Linked DNA regions of Homo sapiens: all the other regions are linked to region 1. Evidence: promoter capture Hi-C in 16 types of primary human blood cells and fetal thymus (Javierre and others, 2016). All regions are on one chromosome and are shown on one strand. Each heading gives the region's core, a stretch centred on a gene start or on the middle of the fragment in contact. The rest is flanking DNA. Distances are from core to core; before and after follow the strand shown.

Evidence for each region. Contacts are between HindIII fragments. The CHiCAGO score rates a contact against its expected background, and 5 or more counts as called.
Region 2: a fragment that was not itself captured here is called in contact with the fragment with the promoter of IRF2BP2 in region 1 in 1 of 17 cell types (activated CD4 T cells); the score reaches 6.0 in activated CD4 T cells.
Region 3: a contact is called between a fragment that was not itself captured here and the fragment with the promoter of IRF2BP2 in region 1, in 9 of 17 cell types (naive CD4 T cells, fetal thymus, activated CD4 T cells and 6 more). The highest score is 9.5, in naive CD4 T cells.
Region 4: a contact is called between a fragment that was not itself captured here and the fragment with the promoter of IRF2BP2 in region 1, in 1 of 17 cell types (fetal thymus). The highest score is 5.1, in fetal thymus.

Annotation. Positions count from the first base shown.
Region 1 is chr1:234,608,928-234,612,215 of GRCh38, forward strand. It overlaps IRF2BP2 (interferon regulatory factor 2 binding protein 2), which reads right to left and starts at 1,251. Exons shown (of 2, transcript NM_182972.3): 1 at 1-1,251. The coding sequence starts at 567. RefSeq lists silencers at 66-345, 586-665, 1,046-1,145, 1,206-1,395, 1,876-2,475 and enhancers at 726-1,423, 1,526-1,625. The HindIII fragment of the contact is 9,061 bases long and covers 1-3,288 here.
Region 2 is chr1:235,311,009-235,313,900 of GRCh38, forward strand. All of the region lies in intron 2 of ARID4B (AT-rich interaction domain 4B), which reads right to left. Among named protein-coding and RNA genes, the nearest start is that of ARID4B, 16 kb to the right of the region's middle. The HindIII fragment of the contact is 2,341 bases long and covers 410-2,750 here.
Region 3 is chr1:235,161,660-235,164,510 of GRCh38, forward strand. No RefSeq gene overlaps it. Among named protein-coding and RNA genes, the nearest start is that of RBM34, 1.8 kb to the left of the region's middle. RefSeq lists an enhancer at 1-44. The HindIII fragment of the contact is 183 bases long and covers 1,508-1,690 here.
Region 4 is chr1:235,336,976-235,340,014 of GRCh38, forward strand. All of the region lies in intron 2 of GGPS1 (geranylgeranyl diphosphate synthase 1), which reads left to right. Among named protein-coding and RNA genes, the nearest start is that of GGPS1, 9.9 kb to the left of the region's middle. The HindIII fragment of the contact is 7,848 bases long and covers 1-3,039 here.

The sequences.
Region 1 (3,288 bases), core at 1-2,500:
CACCAGGGTGGGCGGCACCGCGTGGCCGCGCCGCGGGTTCGGGCTCTGGCGATTCAGCTCGGGCGGCTCCTCTAGCTTGGAGAAGCCGTTGGGCACCAGGATGCCGTTCACGGGCGGCGGCTGCGGCGTCGGCGGCTGGGCCAGGCTCGCTGCCGGGCGGCTGCTGCCGAAGTCAGAGCCGAGGCGCGGGGGCCTCTCGGCCGCGGCCGCCAACGGGTAGCGCTCCAAGGCCTGCGGCGCGCGCGGGGCCGCCTCGGGGCCGCCGTGGCCAAGCTGCTGCTGCTGCTGCAAAAGGATGTCCTTGGCGGAGAGCGGCGGCGGCTTGGCGGCGGCCGAGGCCGCGGCGCCGGGTGGGGAGCGACCCTCCGGGAAGCAGCCGTGCGCCCGCTTGAGCTGCCGCGCCGTCTCGATGACGAACTCGACGCGGTCGGCGCCCTCGTAGTTGACGCAGCCGCGGCAGACGGGTTCGGTGAAGTCCCAGATCATGGCCCAGGGCATGCGGGGCAGGTCACACAGGTAGCACGACTGCCGCCGGGACGCGGCCGCCACCGCCACCGCCGCGGCCATGTCCGAGGAGCCCGCGACGCCGGAGGAGGAGGCGGAGGAGGAGGAGGGGGCGCCGCCGCCGCCCCCCACCGGCACCACGCGCGCCCTCCTCCCCCCCCAACCCCGCGTCTCCCCCACCAGCGGCGGCGGCGGCCGCAAAGGCGGCGGCGGCGGCGGCAAAGCCCGCGAAGGCTCGGCGCCCGCGCAGCGCCCCCGGTGCACGAGGGGCGGCGGGCGCGAGGTGAGGGGCTGCAGCCGCGGCAGCAGTTCCCCCCGGCCGGCCCGGGCACGGGCGGGCGGCGCGGCGCGGCGGGGCGGCGGGCGCGGCGGTGGGGGCTCGGCCGGAGCCGCGGCGGGCCTCCAGACCGGGGCGAAGACGGGCCGCGCGGGCGCGGGGGAGCGCAGCAGGTCGCGGCGGCGGCCGGCACGGAGTGCGGGGCGGGGGGCGGGGAGGCCGGGGGGGCAGGGGGCGGGGGGCGGCCGCCGGGGCAGGCTCAGCCCGAGCGGCGGGGCATGCCGCGCCGGGGTGGCGGCGGCCGGGCGGCGTGGAGCTCGGGCGCGGCGCGGGCCCCGGGTCGCTCCGCCGCTCTCTCACAGCTCCTGGCGTCGCCGCTCTCCAGCGCCAGCGTCAGCGGCCAGCCCGCCTCAGCTCCGCCGCCGCCACCGTCGCTGCTGCTGCTGCCGCCGCGACCGCTCCACTTCTACAGACTTGATTCTTCGACAGTCTCGCACGGCGCCTGCGCGGGCCCCCTCCCCTCGTGCGCGTGCCCGCCCTCCCGCGCGCGCGCTCCCCCTCCCCCCGCGCGCCGAAGGAGCGCTGCCGGGAGAGCCGGCTACGCGGCGCCCGCCCGCCCGCGGGGCAGCGCAGCAGCGCAGCGCCGGTGTTCCCTTCGGAACACCGCGCAAAGTGATCGAGTGCTTTTCCTCCACTTTCCCTCACTTCGCGCCCCACCCGGCTGTCCCGACCACCCTCAGGATGTTTTCCTCTGGTGTGCCTCTGGGCCAAATCGTGCTAAAAATCATTTTTTTTCTTTTATGCAAGGACACTTTGTCACTTGGTTTCCGTCAGTCTCCTGAGAATGGGGAATTTAGGTCTAGCGTGGTTCACAGTTCTGGTTTTTTAGGAGTTATACTTGAAAGCTCAATGTCGGACACATAGCATGAAATCCGTCACTGGTGCTTTGCATTTGTCTTGGAAAGGACATACGCCCCGCCTGTCCCTTTTACTAACTAGGGAGACTGTGAATATTCCCAAGCCCAGCACCACGTGCACACGCCGCCAGCTGGCTCGCGCGTTTTCCACGGAGCCCTCTGGAGGGGAGGGAGCGCGGTTCGGACTAGCCTCTCCCGAACACCAAGTGCCGCTCTTAGCCCCGTCCAGCCCGCCCTGTTCATCGGGGGCCTCGCCGCGCCAGTCGCCCCGGCTGCCTTATGTAGGTATGCGCGGCGGGCGCGTGACGTGGGCGCGGGGCCGTGGGCGGCCGCCGCCGCGAGTGCGCACGCTCCGCGCAGACGTGCCTCGGCGCCGCTGGCACTAGGGCCTCGTGGAACGAATGCACATTCCAGGGATCCGGGGTCTACGGCCAGCGCGGCCGCGTCACAGCGCAGGCTCCACCCCCTTCGGCGAGTCTGGGCGTCGAGGCGCCGCCCCCGGGCCCGAACTTGGACTCGAGGTGGCGGGAGGCGAGGGCGCGAGTGGGGGGGGGGGGGGTCCTGCTCGCCTCCGCGAGGTTCCCGAGGGCCGTGGGGGCGACCGGCTGGCTGGCTGGCCCGCCGTCCCGCAGGGCGGGCCGCCGACGGAGGCGGACTTTTGCCCTATATGCCACCCAGGCCGGGATGAGCCCGGCCTGCAGGTCTGCCACCGTTGGCAGCCTCAGACTCAGCCCAGACTGAATTGAATGTTTGAGTTTCGCACTTTTATCGGGAGGAGGAGCTAGTGTGTGTTATGGTAAATCACTTTGGGCTGGTCGTTAGTCTCCCTAATACACGTAGGCTTAGTCGCTCTTCAATTGGGACTTTTACACTTAAGCTCTTTAAGGGCGGCCTCTGGAGCTGCTTTTGTTGGGAACACAGGCCCACAACTCTCCCTTGAGACTGGAATGAGCTGGTTAAGTGTGGGAAGAACAGGGTACTAATTATATTATCTTTCCTACAACTGGATTGGTAGGTGGAGAGAAAAAAAAAATCATGCTGACGTTTCTCTCTAGTCGTTGCTATTGAAAATACCAGGTTGCTTCAAAGGATTAACCACAAGGAAGAGGAAAAACACCCTTAGAGAAACAGTGGAGGGAGCTGCTTAAAACACATGAAAAAACCTGTTCGAAAATGGCACAGAAAACGTAATGTCAGACCTAAATGTTTTTACAGGCTAACCTTGAATGTCTTTTGGGGATTTCCATAGAAGGTGCGCCTGTTTTAAAGGTCTCTGCATCTGTTCCTGGATCTTGCCCTGCAATTGCAATCCTGCCTCACCCTCTCCAAGCTGGGAGAATGGGGCCTGTCCAGATCCTTCCCGGGAGTAGCTGGTGCCAGCGGGTTTGGTCACTCCCAGGCCCTGCTGTTGCACACCGCTTTCAAGACCTGTCCCTTTGGTCACCCTCCTCAGAGACCCTGTGACACTCATTCCAGTACATGCCTTCACCCACTGCGTCACTGCCCAAAGGGGATGAAGTCCAGTCCTTGTGCTGCAGAGAAATGAACCAACTCATCGCCCCCAAGAGACGGCCCCACTAAGCATTGACT
Region 2 (2,892 bases), core at 330-2,829, 700 kb after region 1:
CCAAAGAACAGCATAAGCTTTTTTAGAACCAGCCATATAGCACAGGGATGCTCCCTCACTAATCCTCATAGATTACCTTTTAGTAACAATGTCATGCAATGATATTTAACAGTTGGTGGCTGCAATAATTCACAGGGCAAGAGTTCAAGACCAGCCTAGGCAACATAGTGAGACCCCATCTCTAGAAAATATAAAAAATCAACCTATGGTGACCCACACCTGTAGTCCCAACTACTCGAGAGGCTGAGGTGGGAGGATCGCTTGAGCCCAGAAGGTCAAGGCTACAGTGAGCCGTGATTGTACTGTGCACTCCAGCCTGGGTGACAGAGCAAGACCCTGTCTCAAAACAATAATAATAATAATAATAATAATAATAATAATAATAATAATAATTCATAGGACTATAAGAAGCTTTGTATATATAATAGGTACTGGGACTATTTGCCACCTACTAGTACTAGGCATCCAAATAAGTTAACAATACTTACTGAAGGCCAGGCACAGTGGCTCACACCTGTACTTTGGGAGGTCGAGGCAGGCAGATCACTTGAGGTCAGGAGTTTGAGACCAGCCTGGCCAACGTGGCAAAACCCTGTCTCTAATAAAAATACAAAAATTAGCTGGGTGTGATGGCACGGGACTGTAGTCCCAGCTACTTGGGAGGCAGAAACATGAGAATCTCTTGAACCCGGGAGGCAGAGGTTGCAGTGAGCCAAGACTGTGCCACTGCACTCCAGCCTGGGCAACAGAGCAAGACCCTGTCTCAAAAACAAAAAACAAAACAAACAAACAAACAAACAAAAACAGTACCTACTGAATACTAAGCACTGCTACATACCTGCAAAACTTAAAGAAACATACCGGTGCCCTATATAAATTATTTGGTTGTAGAAAAAATAACATGTTGAATGCAAATAAAATCTTACTAAAGCCATCAAGAAGAATGACACAGACTTGTGTAATATGTACTGATATAGAAGAATGTAAAAGAAAATTATGGGCCAGGCATGGTGGCTCACGTCTGTAATCCCAGCACTTTGGGAGGCCGAGGCAGGCAAATCACGAGCTCAAGAGATCAAGACCAGCCTGGCCAACATGGTGAAACCCTGTCTACTAAAAATACAAAAATTAGCTGGGCGTGGTGGCGCGCACCTGTAGTTCCAGCTACTCAGGAGGCTGAGGCAGGAGAACTGCTTGAACCCGGGAGGCAGAGGTTGCAGTTAGCCAAGATCGTGCCACCACACTCTAGTCTGGTGACAGAGCGACAGTCCGTCTCAAAGAAAAGAAAAGAAAAGAAAATTACGAACAATATGCATAGCATAAGCCCATTTCAATACAGTCAAACATAACAAAATAAATACTCATGTTTGATTCATATGTGCAAAGAAAAAGGTGTGGAAGAATACACCCAAAAACTGTTGAATCAAGTTACCAGGAAGTAAGACTTCTACTGTCCACTGAATACTACTATGTAATTTTTAATGTTTACAGAAAATCTTTATTGCTTTCATAATAAAAATTTCTTTAATTTTGCTAGAAGAACTAGTTTAGAAAAATATTTCTCCAAGTTAGAGCAAAGCACGAATAGGTGACTTACTAAATGCCAAAAGCTCTCTGGCTTGCCTTTAAAAAAAACAACAACACTTTAGCAAAGAATATTCAGATTAAAAAAAACAGAAATGGGGCTGGGCGTGGTGGCTCCCACCTGTAATCCTAGCACTTTGAGAAGCCAAGGCAGGCGATCACCTGAGCTCGGGAGTTTGAGACCACCCTAGGTAACATTACAAAACCCCATCTCTACTAAAATACAAAAAATTAGCCGAGCATGGTGGCGCATGCCTGTAGTCCTAGCTACTCAGGAGGCTGAGGCACAAGAATCGTTTGAACCTAGGAGGCGGAGGTTGCACTGAGCCAAGATTGCACCACTGCACTCCAGCCTGGGATGCACAGCAAGATTCTGCTTCAAGAAAAAGAAAAGAAAAGAAAAGAAAAGGGTTCTTTGATGAGGTATCCTTATCAAGATAAAACTGAAAATGTGAAAAGTTGAATTTTTGAGATGCAGTCTCATTCTATCACCTAGGCTGGAGTGCAGTGGTGCGATCTCAGCTTACTGCAATTTCCACTTCCCGGGTTCAAGAGATTCTCCTGCATCAGCCTCCCAAACAGGCATACCACCATGCCTGGCTAATTTTTATATTTTCAGTAGAGACAAGGTTTCACCATGTTGGCCAGGCTGGTCTCAAACTCCTGACCTCAAGTAATCTGCCAGCCTCAAACGCCCAAAGTGCTAGGATTACGGGCATGACCCACCGTGCATGCCTAAGTTGAATTTTTTTTTTTTATTCTGAAATAGACATAAGCCAAGCTGCTTCACTTAACTTTGACAGCAATAGTGGCTCCTCCGTGTTCAGGCTTGTTCAGCTTTTTTTAACTCCTCTCTGGAGTAGAGACTCGGGTTTAGCAGGGCTCCTACAGTCATTCGCCCTACCTGCCTAGGCTGCCCATGCTAGATCAGCTTCAGGTGGCTGACTACACCACATCAGAACAGTATTCTGATCAAGAAATGAAAACAATTTTTGCCATACATAAAAGGCTATACAGATGGATGCTTATCCAGAAAATAAGTATCTTCAGTAGTTCACCTAATCCATAAATAACCCTCTAGGCTTGGAAGTAAAATTTACTTTTCCCTTACAAGGAAAGACGGGAGCAAATTAGGAGAGAGGAGATGTATTATATTTACTAAGAGAAGCTTCTGCATCAGTAAGTACCAGGAAAATAAAGGTTAGACATGAGAGCAAAGAGTTCTTGGAATAAAGAAATCTGGTTATCACCTTCTACTAAACATTCTGTTTTTAAGGATTTCAGAAGGAAAGAATAACAGATTTAAGG
Region 3 (2,851 bases), core at 349-2,848, 550 kb after region 1:
TCTGAAACATGACATTATTCCAAAATAAAAACCACAACTCTAACGAGTCACGTCAACATACAATTCGAAAGATTGTAATGCGGACCTGCTATTCTACCTGGAAAAGTAGATACTTGGCATTCAAAACGCTTCAAGGTGTTCTCAGCCCGTCTTCCCAGACTCATCTCCCTCCAGCCCCTGACATTCTAGCCTGCTTTCTCCACTGCCTCTACAGTTGTTATTCCTGTCCCCTCTGTTGTAATTGCCCTCCTCTTTCCCCTTCTGCAAAATAATGTCCATCCTTCAAGGCCTACCTCAGATACTGTCTAACTTAGTATTTCTTTGCAGCCAGGTGCGGTGGCTCGCCTGTAATCCTAACACATTTGGAGGCCGAAGTGGGAGGATTGCGTGAGGACTAGGAGTTTGAACCAGCCTGGTCGATCTAGCGAGACTTATTCTCTACAGAAAAGAAATTAGACGGGCACCTTCGCGCTCGGCGCCTGTAGTCCCAGCACTTTGAGAGGCTCGGGCAAGAGGATCCCTTGAGCCCTGGAAGGTCGAGGCTGCAGTAAGCTGTGATCGCATCACTACACTCCAGCCTAAGCGGCAGACCCTGGCTCAAAAAAAAAAAAAAAAAAATTCTTTGCTATTTACAATAGGGATATTTTCCCAAGCCCCCATGGTACTTACTATAATCATTTTTGGTCTGCTTTAGTGTTAGTTACAGTCTCTTTAGATGTAAAGGCAAGACAGTAAGGATTATGTTTTATTCATCATGTATGCTGTGTCTCTATTAGCTGTACATAGTGAATATTTGTTAAATTGACTCTCAGGGTAATAAAAGATTACTAGTTAAATCATCCAATAGTTTGAGTGGCAAAATAGGATTTGACTTTGTTCTTATTTTCTTTCAGACAAGGTGTTGCTCTGTCACCCAGACTGGAGTGTAGTGGTGAGATCACGGCGCACTGCAGCCTTGACTTCCTGGGCTCAAGCCATCCTCCCACCACGGAGTAGCTGGAACTGCAAGCAGCAGCACCATGCCCAGCTAATTTTTTTTTTTTTTTTGGAGACAGAGTCTCGCTCTGTCGCCCAGGCTGGACTGCAGTGGCGCGATCTCAGCTCACTGCAACCTCCGCCTCCCGGGTTCAAGTGAGTCTCCTGCCTCAGCCTCCCAAGTAGCTGGGATTACAGGTGCATGCCACCATGCCCAGCTAATTTTTGTATTTTTTTAGTAGAGACCGGGTTTCACCATGTTAGCCAGGCTGGTCTCGAACCCCTGACCTTGTGATCCGCCCACCTCAGCCTCCCAAAGTGCTGGGAGTACAGGTGTGAGCCACCGCGCCTGGCCTTTTTTTTTTTTTTTTTTTTTAAATAGAGATTGGGGTTTCACTGTGTTTCCCAGGCCGGTCTTGAACTCCTGAGCTTGAGCAGTCCTCCTGCCTTGGCCTCCCAAAGGGTTGGAATTACAGGCGTGAGCCACTGCATCCAGCCAGGATTTGACTTTGAGTCTTTTGGGGACAGCCTAAGCTTTTTGAAAGCTACTCAACCAAGTTGACTGGGAATATATGTGACTTTTACTTCCCCCTTCAGAGAAATTTATGAAAAAAATCCACAATATTCAACTGCTCGGCCCTGGGTTTTGATTACTGGGCCCCTTATTTTGGTTTCCCATAATCTTGATCTTCTGGTATTTCACAAAGATGAAGAAAGCTTATCCATACATGCATGCGATACAACTCAAAAATCTGTTCTATCCAGTCCAGTGAAGAAATTATATTCTATATTTCTAGAATTATAGAATTCTATTCTGTGTATTTTTTGAGACGGAGTTTCACTCTTGTTGCCCAGGCTGGAGTGCAGTGGCACGATCTTGGCTCATTGCAACCTCCGCCTCCCAGGTTCAAGCGATTCTCCTGCCTCAGCCTCCCGAGTAGTTGGGATTACAGGCATGCACCACCATGCCTGGCTAATTTTATATTTTTAATAGAGACAGGGTTTCTCCATGTTGGTCGGGCTGGTCTCGAACTCCTGACCTCAGGTGATCCGCTCGCCTTGACCTCCCAACGTGCTGGGATTACAGGTATGACCCACTGTGCCCAGCTAGGTAGCAGATACTTATAGAAGAAAACAGACTGCGAAAGCAGCTGTGGTTGCAGATAGTTTTAAAATTATCTTCATTGCTGTTCAGTGCTGTTTTTAACCATTTAGAGATCACTTACTGCTTTGAGAGTTTTTTAAAATATGAGGACATGGTGGGACAAGGTGGCTCACGCCTATAATCCCAGCACTTTGGGAGACCAAGACGGAAGGAATGCAAGCCCAGGAGTTTCAGATCAGCGACTGCGCCATTTGCACTCCAGCCTGGGCAACAAGAGCGAAACTCCGTCTCAAAAAAACAAAAGGAGGCCGGGTGCGGTGGCTTACGCCTGTAATCCCAGCGCTTTGGGAGGCCGAGGTGGGTGGATCATCTGAGGTCAGAAGTTTGAGATCAGCCTGGCCAACATGGTGAAACCCCATCTCTACTAAAAATACAAAAATTAGCTAGGCATGGTGGCGGGCGCCTGTAATCCCAGCTAGTCGGGAGGCTGATGCAGGAGAACCACTTGAACCCGGGAGGCAGAGGTTGCAGTGAGCCAAGATGGCGCCATTATACTCCAGCCTGGGCGACAGAGCGAGATTCTGTCTAAAACAAAACAAAACAAACAAAAAAAAGAAATTAACAAGACCCCACTCTAAAGTTTTTTCAGTAGGAAAAAAAACGTTTTGGAGAACACCGTTAAGAAACGTATCATCTTGGGTGGGCGCGGTGGCTCATGCCTGTAATCCCAACACTTTGTGAGGTCAAGGCGGGCAGATTACGAGGTCAGGA
Region 4 (3,039 bases), core at 58-2,557, 730 kb after region 1:
CAGAAATGGAGAATTCAAAGGGAAGGTTGCCCACTGTTTAAGAAAAAGCCAAGAGACTGCTTTTGAGTGACATTTATCCAGCAGTTAGTAACTTATTTCAGTATCTCCCAGTGAGAAACATGGCACAGTTTCACTTTCACTCTACCCAGCTCTTACTGCCAGACATCCTTTAGAACACGCTCACAAACACTAGCTGGAACTGGGCTGGCATTAATAGCAAGCCAGTTATCAGTGCTGACAAAAGTCTAACAAGCATCGCTTGAATGTCTCTTACTCTGCTACTTACAAAGCAAGGACTGCCTACAGTTACATTTTAACCATAATGCTTACTTATGCTGTGACCACCTTCTGTGACTTCCTTTTTTTTAATTCTCATTACTTGGAAATAATGTTTTAAGACATTAGATAACATATTTAAAATTATCACTAGGTACCTCACCTTTTTATTCAAGTACGTTCTTGATCCATGATGGAATACAACCTCAAAAGATACTACTAAAGAAATATGACATTGCACTATGCACATAACACACTTATTTTTTTACAGAGAGCTTCAGAGTTACTAAAGTAACTTAGAGGTGTGCCAGGTCATTTATACTGTTGTAATATTACTCTTGCTAATAAATAATAATAATGCTATCAGTATTTTCTGAAGTCAACCTGGCCAACATGGTGAAACCCTGTATCTACTAAAAATACAAATATTAGCCAAGTATGGTAGCGCATGCCTGTAGTCCCAGCTGAGGCACGGGAGTCACAGGAGCCTAGGAGGCAGAGGTTGCAGTGAGCCGAGATCACGCCACTGCACTCCAGCCTGGGCAACAGAGTGAGACACTGTCTCAAAAAAAAAAAAGGATTTTCTGAAATTAGTAAAGAAAATTATTTTTATTTTTAAATTTCTCATACTTGCTGTCATCTTATGTTTATGTTTGTTTATTTGCCTTAGTGTGGGGCCCTAGATGAGGTGAAGGGTGGGATTAGGGAGAGATGAAGCTGGCAGTGGAGGAAGAAGGGCTCCAAAAAGAGAGACAATAATGTTTAGATCTTAAAGAGGAAGCAGTAATCTTTTAATTTTGAGAGATCTCTGTGATTAGCCTCAGTACTAGAAATTATTTTGGAACTCAGCCAGGCGCGGTGGCTCACATCTGTACTCCCAGCACTTTGGGAGACCGAAGTGGGCAGATGGCTTAAGCCCAGGAGTTCAAGACCAGCCTGGGCAACATGGCAAAACCCTGTCTCTACTAAAAATACAAAAAATTAGCCAGGCATGTGATACGCCCTTGTAGTCCCAGCTTACCTGGGGGACTGAGGTGGGATGATTACCGGAGCCTGGGAGGTTGAGGCTGCAGTAAGCCAAGATCACACCACTGCACCCCAGCCTGGGTGATTAAGGGAGACCCCGTCTCAGAAAAAAAAAAGGGGGGGAAACTTAAAAGCATCAGGCTAAACACTAGCATGTCATCAGAGGGGAAAAAAATATTAAAACTGTAGTACCTCAAAAATAAGCCATATATTGTACTGTTTTCTATATAACATTCAAAAGTAAAATGAAAAATGAAATTTCACATTGAGACTCTGTTTTTCATCTTCAAAAAAATGTGTTTAAGTGATACAGGCCAAGTGCAGTGGCTGACTTATTATCCCAGCACTTTGGGAGGCCAAGTGGGACAGATTGCTTTTGAGCCCAGGGGTTTGAGACCAGCCTGGGCAACAGGGCGAAACCCTGCCTCTACAAAAAATAAATAAATAAAAATAAAATTAGCCAGGCATGGTGGCTTGTTCTTGTAGTCCCAGCTACTCAGGGGACTTGAGCCTAGGAGGTCAAGGCTGCAGTAGGCCGTGATTGTGCCACTGCACTCCAGCCTGGGTGACAGAGCGAGACCCTGTCTCAAAAATAATAATAATAGGCCGGGCGTGGTGGGTCACACCTGTAATCCCAGCACTTCGAGAGGCCAAAGCATGTGGACGACTTGAGGTCAGGAGTTCGAGACCAGCCTGGCCAACATGGGGAAACCCTGTCTCTATTAAAAGTACAAAAAATTGGCCGGGCGCGGTAGCTCACGCATGTAATCCCTACACTTTGGGAGGCTGAGGTGGGTGGATCACCTGAGGTCAGGAATTCAAGACCAGCCTGGCCAACATGATGAAACCGTCTCTACTAAAAATACAAAAAATTAGCTGGATTTAGTGGCGCACGACTGTAATCCCAGCTACTCAGGAGGCTGAGGCAGGAGAATCGCTTGAACCTAGGAGGTGGAGGTTGCAGTGAGCCAAGATCGTGACACTGTACCCCAGCCTGGGCAACAAGAGCAAAACTCGATCTCAGAAAAAAAATACAAAAAATTAGCTAGGCGTAGTGACGCACACCTGTAATCCCAGCTACTCGGGAGGCTGAGACAGGAGAATCCCTTGAACCCAGGAGGCGAAGGTTGTGGTGAGCCGAGCCAAGATCGTGCCATTGCTTTCCAGCCTAGGTGACAGAGCAAAACTTCATCTCCACAAACAAACAAACAAACAAAAAAACCCATAATCCCAGCATTTTGGGAGGCCAACACAGGTGAATTACCTGAGGTCAGGAGTTTGACACCAGCCTGGCCAACATAGTGAAACCCTGTCTCTACTAAAATTACAAAAATTAGCCAGGTGTGGTGGCAGGTGCCTGTAATCCCAGCTACTTGGGAGGCTGAGGCAGGAGAATCGCTTGAACCCAGGGGGCGGAGGTTGCAGTGAGCCGAGATCACACCATTGCACTCTAGCCTGGGTGACAAGAGCGAAATTCCATCTCCAAAAAAAAAAAAAGAAAACAGTATTTTAGTTTTAACTTTTTATGTAACCATTTTCCTGAAACCTTATCTAAAATTAGGATGTTATTACCATGCATTCATTTAGCAGAAAACTTATAGAACATTTTTACTAAGTGAACTGGCCATGGTTTTTATCTATCATTCCTTTGTATGTGACTACAATGACTTCTAGTGGTAACTTCTATCCAAAGACCTATCTTAAATTAGCCACGCATGGTGGCACATGCGTGTAATC